Regions from separate parts of the Homo sapiens genome. Here all the other regions are linked to region 3. The links are contacts of gene promoters, found by promoter capture Hi-C in human tissues and cell types (Jung and others, 2019). All regions are on one chromosome and are shown on one strand. The core of a region is centred on a gene start or on the middle of the fragment in contact, and the rest is flanking DNA. Distances in the headings are between cores, read along the strand shown. Region 1 holds the start of ZNF710 (zinc finger protein 710). Region 2 overlaps ZNF710 (zinc finger protein 710). Region 3 holds the start of PLIN1 (perilipin 1).

Evidence for each region. Contacts are between HindIII fragments. The study calls those that stand out against the background at their distance.
Region 1: a contact is called between the fragment with the promoter of ZNF710 here and the fragment with the promoter of PLIN1 in region 3, in 2 of the 25 tissues and cell types used here (mesendoderm cells and thymus).
Region 2: a contact is called between a fragment that was not itself captured here and the fragment with the promoter of PLIN1 in region 3, in 1 of the 25 tissues and cell types used here (mesendoderm cells).

Annotation. Positions count from the first base shown.
Region 1 is chr15:89,999,635-90,003,304 of GRCh38, reverse strand. ZNF710 (zinc finger protein 710) reads right to left here and starts at 1,981. Exons shown (of 5, transcript NM_198526.4): 1 at 1,691-1,981. RefSeq lists enhancers at 1-399, 400-1,168 and silencers at 868-1,367, 1,783-1,951, 2,360-2,529. The HindIII fragment of the contact is 12,330 bases long and covers 1-3,670 here.
Region 2 is chr15:90,016,954-90,020,600 of GRCh38, reverse strand. The region is part of intron 1 of ZNF710 (zinc finger protein 710); the gene reads right to left. Among named protein-coding and RNA genes, the nearest start is that of MIR3174, 12 kb to the right of the region's middle. The HindIII fragment of the contact is 6,651 bases long and covers 1-3,647 here.
Region 3 is chr15:89,677,095-89,680,825 of GRCh38, reverse strand. It overlaps PLIN1 (perilipin 1), which reads left to right and starts at 1,459. Exons shown (of 9, transcript NM_002666.5): 1 at 1,459-1,575; 2 at 3,323-3,381. The coding sequence starts at 3,337. The HindIII fragment of the contact is 12,360 bases long and covers 1-3,731 here.

The DNA.
Region 1 (3,670 bases), core at 732-3,231, 320 kb before region 3:
TTTCCATTTTGCACAGCAAGAAAGGTGCTCAGGGTGCCCTTTGCAGGTGGGCACTCGGCCTGCAGCTCAAGGGTGGGCCATGACGTTGGTCCCTCACTGGATTGCCCGGCAGGCCTCCCTCAGACCCAGTAGGACGAGTACCTCGAAGAGTCCTTGTGATCCCAGCACTTTGGGAGGCCGGGGCGGGCGGATCACGAGGTCAGGAGTTTGAGACCAGCCTGGCCAATATGGTGAAACCCCGTCTCTCCTAAAAATAATTAAAAATTAAACGGGCGTGGTGGCGTGCGCCTGTAGTCCCAGCTATTGGGGAGGTTGAGGCAGGAGAATCGCTTGAACCCGGGAGACGGAGGCTGCAGTGAGCCGAGATCGCGCCACTGCACTCCAGCCTGGGCGACAGAGCAAGACTCCATATCAAGAAAAAAGAAAAGGCACCCCGGATACTGCTACGCCTTGCCCTAACCGTCTCGCAAATCCTAGAGATACATGAATGACCCTTTCAGGTTGGTTAAAATCCACACAAGCACCTCCCTGGCCTCTTAAATCTTTCCAAACTACAGCTTAGACTGGAGGGAAGCAGTTGCAGCGCCCATAAAAGTCATCTTAAAAGGCAAGTTGGAAAAAAACCCGATACGCACTAGTTAGCAAGTCCGCGGTGAAGGGGGCGGTGGCCCAAGGGCCGGATCTGCGGGATCTGTGCGCCTAGGGTGGGGAGGCTGGGGCTGCCCCGTCGGTCCCCGAGCCCGCGCGCCCACCTGGTAGCCTGAGGGCCCCGATCTGACGCTGGTGCTCACGCCCCACAGCTCCATCCAATTAGGAAAATGACCGCGAGAAGACGGAGAGAGGGCGACGAGGAGGAAGGGGGGCTGAGCCGCGGGAGGCTCAAGACGGGCCGTAGGGACCCCGCCCGCCACCCCCACCCCCACGCCCCCAGACAGCGAGCGCCGGTCCTGGGTCCCCGGCCCGCGGCGCCCCGACGCTGTCCCGGCGGAGATCCCGCGGCGCCCAGCGTGCGGCGGCCAGTGGCCCTCGGGGACGCCCCCAGCCCCGCCAGCGGCGCGCTCAGCTCTCCCCCACCCCCGGCCGGCTGGGACGCGCAACAACCCCACCCGCTCCGAGAATAAAGTTTGTGGGCAGCCGTAGGGGCGGGGCGGCGAGGGGGTGAAACTTTGAGTCCCGGGCCGGGTGTGGGGGGAGCGCACCCAGCACCGGGACACCCACGTGCGGGCCCGAGAGCCTCCGCCACCGTCGCCTCCCGGGCCTCCCGCGCCGCCGCCGCCGCCGCCGCGACGCTTTCCTTTCATTTTTGCCTCTCTCTCTCTCTCTCTCTCTCTCTCTCTCATTCGCGCGCTCTCCTCCCTCTCGCCCTCTTTCGCTCGCTCCCTCCCTCTCCCTTCCCCCTCCCCCTCCTCTCCCTCCCCCCCACCCCAGACGCCATCTCTCCCTCTTTCCCCGGCTCTCCCTCTCTCCCTCCAGCTCTCCGGCATGAGGGAATGTGGAAGTGAAAGGAAAAGACGACATGTTTGCAGCGCGGCGCGGGCCTGCGCGCGGCCGTCCCCAGGGAGAGGCGGGGGGCGGGTCGGCCGCGGCCGCAGCGACCCACCCCCGCGCCCCCCGCGCCCCCGCCGGCCGGCAGCGCGGGGCTGCGGGGCTGGGGCTGGGGCTGGGGCGGGGGGCCGCGCGGGACACTCACCCTGGGTCCGGGCGCGGCTCCTGCGCTGGGGCCCTCGGCGGGCCGGGCCGGGCCGGGCCGGGGGCTCCTGGCTGCCCACCGCCCGGGCTGCTGCTGTGCGCCCGCCGCCCGCCTCCACGCGCGCCCGCCGCCTGCTCCTGCCGCCCTCCCTCCGGCTCCTCTCTTTCTCTCTCTCCCCCCTCCTCTCGCTCGCTCTCTCGCTCGCGCTCTCTCCCTCCCTGGAAGAAGGGAATGAGGCAGGGCTGACGTGAAGGGATGCAAAACAGCTCCTCCTAAGCCAGCTCGCAGAGGAAGAGAGAGACAGAAAAGCAGCCCTTTTATCTCTCTTTTGTTTTCTCACTTCCTTCCACCCCCAACACCTCCCTCTTGTCAGCCCAAGTTTTCTTTTCTCTTTCTACCGCAGAGGATTTTTCTTCCTTTCTTTCTCTTTCTTTCGGTTCAACTCTCCCACTCGAATTGAAAGCCTGAAGGGTTTTCTTTCTCCTGTTTTTTTCTTCCCTCTTTTCTTCCTTCTTCCTCCTTTCTTATTTCTCTAAAAGGGTTTTGTTTGCTGTGGGAGTTTCGTTTGAAAATCAAGTCACGCCTTTTTTCCTTCTTTTCTTTCTTTCTCTCTCTCTCTTTTTTTTTTCTCCTCTCAGCAGAAAAGGGGAACAAAGATTAACTGAAGCGGGGAAGAGGCAGACCTCGCTTGGAAATGGGGGGCCCGGCCCTGTCCGGTACAAAGGGGGCCCGGGGGCCCTGCGCCCCGCCCCCCCCAAGGGAAGCCAGGGGCGTCCTCTGGAGAGGAGAGCCGGTGCGGGTGTTGGGGCACGGGTGCGGCTCCTGGGTGCCGGTTCCTTCCCAAGTGCGAGCGAGGGCCGCCGAGCCCGCCCCTCCCCAGCCAGAGGTGGCAAGCTGGGTGTGTGTGCTTCACTTATGTATTTTTAAAGTAGGCAGATGGGCCTGGAACAAACATCCCCGCAGAGCACTGAACAGCAAAAGCCTTTAAACAGCTGTTAGCAGAGCCCTGGACGGCCTGACTCGAGGGAGCGGCGCGGGCTCCGAGCGCCAGGGCCCGGGTGGAGAAGGGGCTCAGGGCAGCTGCTGGGATCGGCGGGCTGGCGGGGTCCCCGAGCCCAGGGCCTGGGCCTCGGCCCCGGGGCGCACTGCTGGGGGGCGCCGAGGCGTGGTCGCTGGCAGCGCGGCCGTCAGGTCCCTCTCGGCTCCCTGAGGGGCCGCGGGGTTTGGCACAGCCTCGCCGCCCTCCAGCTCCGGCGCAGGCCGGACACCAGGCCTCCAACCTCCAGAACACCCGCCACTCCGAGCCGTTTCTCGACTGCAACGCAGGGCGGGTCCGGAGCCCTCGGACAGAGCCGGGCAGTGCCGCCAGGAAGGGTCAATTATTCATGGGGCGCCCGGGCGTGCTCCCAAGACCTGCTCTGTCCTCGGGTTCTCCGGAGGAGTGGGGAGAAGACGGGGGAAAGTTCCCAAAGCAAAGTTGGTCACATTTGTCATTTTCCCAAGTAAGTATTGAGCACCTGCTGGATGCCGGGCCCTCGGACTGGGGCTGCAGCCAGGGGGAGAAACGTGAGGTCTCGGTGGGCCCCGAGAGCAAACTCAGGGAACAATGCAAGGGAAGCTGCGGCTCAGGACCAGGTCACCGGGAGGAAGGAAAGCCTGGATCCTCTCCCCTCCCTCTTCCCTTCCTTCCCTTCCCTTCCTTCCTCCCGGCTGCATCTCCTTGGCTCCACCCCTTCTCCTCATCAATTCCTCCCACACTTCCCTGCTCTCCCTGGCTTTTCACTGAAGGGTCCCTTCTCCCAGGGAGGAGCAGATGCTGAGCCCCATTGTCTCTCCCCCAGTGACTGCAGCCTCCCGGGGACACGACCTGCCACTCCTCACCCCTCCCCCCAGCCCTGAGCCCTGGGCCTTTAGAAACGAGAGCCCCAAGGCCACGGCCCCTCGCCCCACCCTAAACCAGCTCCTGGTGCTCTGAGCTAT
Region 2 (3,647 bases), core at 396-2,895, 340 kb before region 3:
GCGTCAGGTTCACAGAAACCGAAACGTCCCTCATCTCAAGGGGCTGGGGTTTGTGTTTTTGTTTTTTGTAACCCATCCCGGCAGCAGCTGGCATGCTGTGTCTCCCCGGGGGCGGGGAGGCAGTTCGGGCCTCCACCAGCCCCCATGGCCTTCTTGGCAGAACTGAGAAGAAAGGGTGGGCTGGGCTTGGGCCTCAGCTGGGACAGCCCTGCCTGGACGGAAGGGTGCAGGGGCGTTGGTAGCAGAGCTGGAGGAGGGAAGGGGCTGTGAGGTGCCTGGATGTGCCCAGTCCTGAAGGTGGGCACCAGTCTAGGTCCCGGCAGGAGAGAAAAGGGAAGAAAGAAGCTCAGCCCACAGGAAGGGCCCCAGAGGCCCCATGAAGAATGCGCTGTCACGCAGGAGGAAGACAGCGGAAAAGGAGGAAGAGCCGGTCAGCAGTGGGAACAGGAAGGTCCGATTTAGACCACGTAAATGCTACTTCCTCAGTAATTCCATCAAACTTCCCTCTGTTCCCCACACCAAGTGATGACGAAGAACTGGGCTTCAAGGGGCTGAAAGTCTGGGCAGAGGCACTTCCTTGGCCTGGACTCCTGGGCTAGAGTCTGAGGCCTCCACAGGAAATCCTCGGCTCCCCCACTCACCGCCCCCCAATAAGCACCAACCTAGTCTCTGGATTAGGGCAGGATGTTTGTTTAGGAGCATTCTCTTGGAAGAAAGACCAGCCTAAGTTCTCTGACAGACTCTGGAATCCTCAAAGCCAGCTCTCTGTCCCGGGCACCCTAACGGCTGGCACCAGAGAAGGTTACCCTGGGGAGCCACAGGCCTGCAGCTTCCTGGGGTCATGGGAGGCAAGACAGGGTCTCTGGGCCCAGCCCTCGCACTCCCATTGTAAAGCGACGGGCCAGGATGACAGACTCCCTTTCCTAGGTCAGCTGTGCCCGGAGTCTCTCAGGCCCTTCCTTGCCATTTACTCTCAGCCAACCTGTATGACCCGTGAGAAACATTAGGAAACAGAGGTCTGAAAGACTCACAACCATGTTTAAAAGAATGGGAGTTAGTATTTGGCTAAACAGAATCCAAATATGATACAATGTGTCTGGGGGCAATTTACCCATCTAGACGAACAGCCTTTAGAATGTGTCCTTGGCCCAGTGATTCTCTTCTGGAGATGTATCCCAAGGAAATAACCAAGTCTGTGGGCAAATATACCCAAGGATGTTTACCACAGCATTCTTTACAAGACAGAAACAGAGGAAACAAGCTAAATGTAGGAGATTGGTTAAATAAATGATAGTCCATCTGTTCAAAAGAACTATACAACCCTTTAAAGTGACTTGACGGAGGCTGCTTAACCTGATGGAAATTTTAATCACATGTTGTAAAGTAAAAGCAAAAAAAAAAAAAAAAAAAAAAGAAAGAAAAAGTAATAAGATGGTACAAACAGTATGATCTCATCTTTTGAAATTGAAAAATATTCTGGGGGGGCTATACAATATACTAAAATATTAATAATTATAGGTGGTTTTTATCTTTTTTGCCTACTTATAGTCCCTAAATTTTCTGCAATAATCATCAACCTCTTTGTAGCAAGAAAAAAAAATCAATAAAAGCTATTTTCTAAAAAACAAAAGGAAGAGATACAAGATCCAAGAGACTGTTCATTCCTTGGGCATTCAAATCTAAGATGGATTAAAAAACAAACAAACAAACAAAAAACCACTAGACAGAGACATCTTAAATCCACCTAAGAATATTTAAGAATATTTTCAAGGTGGTTTCCAGGACAGGGAAATTAGAATCCTCCAGAAGGCCCTACTGAGCACAGGAAGACTGAGAGCCACCAGCAGGGAGACACATCCTCCAGCAACGTCCATGAAGACCCAGGGCCCAGCTTTCCTGTGTGGGCCCTTCCAGTCACTGTAGCTGAGTGGGGAGGTGAGGGGCAGGCAGGGGCCAAGGTGCAAAAAGGCAAAGCAGACATGACCTCTGTCCTGGTTTACGGAAAGGGCAATGGCCGTTTCTTTAGACAGTGAATTCAAAGAGGAGGCGAAAAAAGGCCAGTTCTTAATCTGAGATTTGTTAATCTAGGTGGCGACAAGAAATGAATTTTTACAACCACGGTAGGAAAACCCCAGCTGGGCGCGGTGGCTCACGCCTGTAATCTCAGCACTTTGGGAGGCCACGGTAGGCGGATCACCTGAAGTCAGGAGTTCAAGACCAGCCTGCCAACATGGTGAAACCCCGGCTCTACTAAAAATACAAAAAGTAGCTGGGTGTGGTGGCACACGCCTGTGATCCCAGCTATTCAGGAAGCTGAGGCAGGTGAACTGCTTGAATCCGGGAGGCGGAGGTTGCAGTGAGTCGAGATCACGCCACTGTCCTCCAGTCTGGGTGACAGAGCAAGACTCCATTTCAAAAAAAAAAAAAAAAGAAAAAAGAAAAGAAAAGCCCCAAAACAGGGATTTGGAAGAGAAATTCTAACAAGCTCTGTAATTGAAGCAAAAGAACACAGCTGATGTTACACAGAAGTTTTTCTGGGGGAGACAGAACACAAGAAGATGATGGAGCAGAATGCTGGGTAGGACGTCCAGAGCGCTCACAGCACACTGTGAGTGAGAAGCTAGCCTTTGCTAAGAGAGATGCCCTGGAGCCCAAGGAAGGAGATTCCATAGGGCATGGCCTTAATTATTCAAGCACCAGGAAAACCTGAGGAGCAGTGGGGAGGTGTCTCAATGTTGCCGGTCCCTTTATGATCAAAAGCCAAAAGCTTTAAAGTCTATTTCAGATATCAAAATGCATCCATTTGGGAACCGTTTCCTGGGTGCTTCCCATCCATTCTCGAATTCTGCAAACAACTGGGCACTGATGAGTATAAACTTTCCAGGGGAACAGCACCATGCTGTTCAAGACACTCCCACCTTCACCAAGTAACCAAACAAAAGTGGACAGGATGGGTCATTAGGATGCATCCCTTGCAAGATGCCAAGCAGTATAGTGACAGGATGTTGGACATGCCAGCTCAGGCCCACAGATCCCGAAAACTTCCTACCCCCGAGAGCATTCCTCAGCCCAAAAGGACCCTGCTTCTTTCTTAAAGAATGATGACTCCAAGTTAGAAAATAAATATGGCACCACACACAAGGACAGCCGGAGCTGGATGATTTTGTATCTCTTAAAGACATCAAATTCTTCCCCTGGTGAAGCTATAGCCTGTAAATTACAGCCTTGTATTATATATGGCCAACACTTTCAGCTTTGTTCTCCATACAGCATTTCTCATCAGCAAGGAGGAAGCAGTCAATACCCTACTTTGAAAAACAGCACAGGTGGTTCTGGGAAACAAATAATAAAAATGCACCTCTCCCTCCCTTTAATTAAAGACATGCTATCCAATGGCACTTCTGAATAGAAAAATATTTTTAAAAAGTTATTCTCCCAGAATCTTCCAAGTACCAAGTGCCTTTACCCCTAAAAAGTTCCCTGCCATAAAACAAAGTGAATGCACCAGCTTAGGGAGCCAGGAAATGCTCCCTCAGCACCTGGCAGCAGCTGGCACCTACCTGAGGCCAGTTTACAGACAGAAAGAAAAGCTCCCTTGAAATAACGCTAAGGTTCAGACATTCTGATAAAAGCTGGGAACTTCAAAG
Region 3 (3,731 bases), core at 210-2,709:
GCTAGAAAACTAACACTTCTGTCTTCCCTCGGGACTCTCCTAGGCCCTTTCACCACTTCTCACCTCTCACCCACATTCTGCACTCCCAGCTAAAGCAGCCAAAGGACTATTTGATTTGGCAGAGCTTTCAGGCACAAAGCCCTATGTTCCCTCTGGCCCAAAGCCACTACTCTGAAGGCTGAAAACTGCCCTTTGGCTCAGGTTGCTGTCCAGTCACAGCCTCACAGATAATTTGTGCTGAACCTTGAGGTGAGGGCAGAGGCCACTTCTTTAAATACTTTGTCTTCTCTACTGCCTTACATTTGAAAAGCACAGGTTGGATCAATAAGTATTAAACGTATAGCGTATTACTCCTTTGAAGCCTCCCTGCTTGACTCCTCCCTTTCCTGCCTTCTCATTCCCTACTTTATTGCATCACAGATACGTAATTTATTACCAAGGATCTTTCATAATTCCCCACCCCTGCCTCTTTCTTCTCTTGCCCACACTGTGTGACTTAACAGAGTCAACAATACATATAATTCCACCAGCAACAAAGAAAATAAGTTTTGTTTTCCTATTGTCTGTTTTCATGAAGAGGCCCTTCTTAGTTAATCTGAAAGCTATGGCTTATACCATAGTCCTCCATCATATCTAAAGCCAGGAACTAGAACTTGGGCTTGTGCTTGAGTCCTGGGTAAAGAAGGGTTGAGTGGTGCTAATTCTTGGCTGTCTGGGTGCTCTTGATTAGTGATAGAATCCTAGTCAACACTGTCGCTTATCCAGACCCAGGAGAATAAAAATCTACTTGGCTCTCCTACTCTTCATTCTGGTAGCATCTTAGGCCAGGTAAAGTTCAATAAATTTTTTTGAATTCTAAGAAGTGGGAATTCCTCCCTCAACTCAAAGGCTATATTGTCAAAAACTCAACTCCCGGCTCTGTCGCTTCTTCACTGAGGGCAATTTATCTCCATAATCAAAGATGAATACATTCAGATGAACTCTTCTGTGTGGGTTTAAATTTTACTGTTCAGCATTCAGTCTTGCTAGTAAATAAGAAAAGATGAGAGAAATGGATTGAAAACTCCCACAAGACCCTCTATGGAAAAGGAGCCAAAAGATTGCAGAGGTATATAGAACTTTAGAGCTTTTGAGTTTAATGATGTCTATCCCTATACCTTCTTTCTGGAAAGCAGATTTTTGTGAATTGAGGGCAGGAACATTACAGAACTGATGCTTCATGGCTCTGGAATACTAAGTCCTCTGAGCCTGGATCTCCTTCAGCTCTGCCACCTACCTCCTTGTTTGCTAAATGTCCTTAGAGAAGTTAGGATATGCCTGGGGAACCCTGGGTCATATAACCATGACAACTGGCTGACCCTGTTGTCTCTCCCTCTCTGCCCTCCTCTAGCTGGGAGGTGGAAGCAGCATTGCCCAAGCCTCCCAGGAGTGACAGGAATTGTTTCTGCCTGAGGAGACACTCTGCAGCCTGGGCTCTGTGAGACTGAGGTGGCGGTCAGCCGGAGTGAGTGTTGGGGTCCTGGGGCACCTGCCTTACATGGCTTGTTTATGAACATTAAAGGGAAGAAGTTGAAGGTAAGGGCCTCTTGGGGATTTTGCTGGGGATGAAAAACTCTGCAGGGAAACTACTGAGGGAGAGATTCTGGTATAGATACCAGAATCTAGAAATAGAGGAATTGGATAGGCACAGTGGATCATGCCTTTAATCCCAGCACTGCAGGTGGCCAAGGCAGGTGGATCACTTGAGCCCAGGAGTTCAAGAACAACCTGGGCAACACAGTGGGATCCTGTCTCTATAAAAAAAGAGAAAAAATTAGCCCTGCATTGTGGTGCATGCCTGTAGTCCCAGCTACATGAGAGGCTGAGGTGGGAGGGTACCTTGATCCCAGGAGGTCAAGGCTGCATTGAGCCATGATCGTGCCACCACATTCCATCCTGGGCAACAGATTGAGACCCTGTCTCAAAAAACAGATAGGGAGAGGGGGAGAGGGACAGACAGAGAGAAAGAGAGAAATAGAGGAATTAACCCAGAGCCTTTTCAAAGATGAAACCTTTAACTTGTTTATTTATTTTTTTAGAGATGGGCATCTCACTGTATTGCCGAGGCTGATCTCAAACTCCTGGGCTCAAGCAATTCTCCCATGTCAGCCTCAGTAGCTGGGATTACAGGTGCTTGCCAGTGCACCCAGCTTGAAACTTCTTGTTTTAGTCTCTTTTGGACCCTCATTTAAGAGCCTTAAGATTTTATCTAAAACTTTTTATCTCTTATGGCTACCTGCATTTTTTATTTCCTAACCTGAACTCCTTTTTTTTTTTGAGACAGAGTCTCCCTCTGTCACCCAGGCTGGAGTGCAGTGGCAGGATCTCAGCTCACTGCAACCTCCACCTCTCAGGCTCAAGCGATCCTCCTGCCTCAGCCTCCCAAGTAGCTGGGATTACAGCTGCCCACCACCACGTCTGGCTAATTTTTGTATTTTTAGCAGAGACGGAGTTTCACCATGTTGCCCAGGCTGGTCTTGAACTCCTGAACTCAGGTGATCTGCCTGCCTTGGACTCCCAAAGTGCCGGGATTACAGGCCTGAGCCACCGCGCCTGGCCTCTTAACCTGAACTCTTATAGGAAACATTATTCTTGGCCGGGCATGGTGGCTCTTGCCTGTAATCACAGCACTTTGGGAGGCCAAGGTGGGCAGATCACTTGAGGCCAGGAGTTCGAGACCAGCCTGGCCAACATGATGAAACCCCATCTCTACTAAAAATACAAAAATTAGCCAGTGTGGTGGTTCATGCCTGTAATCCCAGCACTTTGGGAGGTCTAGGCAGGTGGATCACTTGAGGTCAGGAGTTCGACACCAGCCTAGCCAACATGGTGAAACCCCATCTCTACTAAACAGAAAAAAAAAAAAAAACTAGCCGGGCGTGGTGGTGGGCGCCTGTAATCCCAGCTACTTGGGAGGCTGAGGCAGGAGAATCCCTTGAACCCGGGAGGCGGAGGTTGTAGTGAGCCGAGATTGTGCAACTACACTCCAGCCTGGGCAACAGAGCAAGAATCCATCTCAAAAAAAAAAAAAAAGAAAGAAAGAAAAGAAAAAGAAAGAAACATCAGTCTTGACAAGTAAGCTATGGAGCAACTCATTGCTATGGGACCCTAAGGAGTGGGGCTATTGTGTGTGATATTCACCCTCCAACCTAATGCCTTCTGTTCAGGGCAAATGGGCCCCCAGGCAGCCTGGGCCTAGTTGGTGGCCATGAGAGGTAGGGAAGTGACCCAGTGGAGCTCAAGCCTGAGGGCTTCTGATGGGACCTGGGACTCTGTTTTGCAGCTTGAGGAGCGAGGATGGCAGTCAACAAAGGCCTCACCTTGCTGGATGGAGACCTCCCTGTAAGTAACTTGGGCTCATCTGTGACAGGGGATGGACAACTGAGGGAGGAGGAAGAAGCAGGGAGGGGAGATGCAGGGGACTTAGAGCAAGATATTCCCAGATTATAATCCTAGTTCATTGACTACCATGGCTTAGTTATTCTTGCCCTCACCACCTTTTGTAGGGGGCAGTTGGAGGATCTGGGAGGGGAAAAAAAGATGCCTATTAAAAATTAAGCACCTTGAAAAAAAGGGACAGAAATCCTGGCTTAGGGACGGGGGGAGTGGAGAGGAAGGAAACTACTGTTTAAACCCTGACGCAGAAGCCCATGCTCTGTCCACCACCCAGCTGGATGTGCATTCAGTGCAGA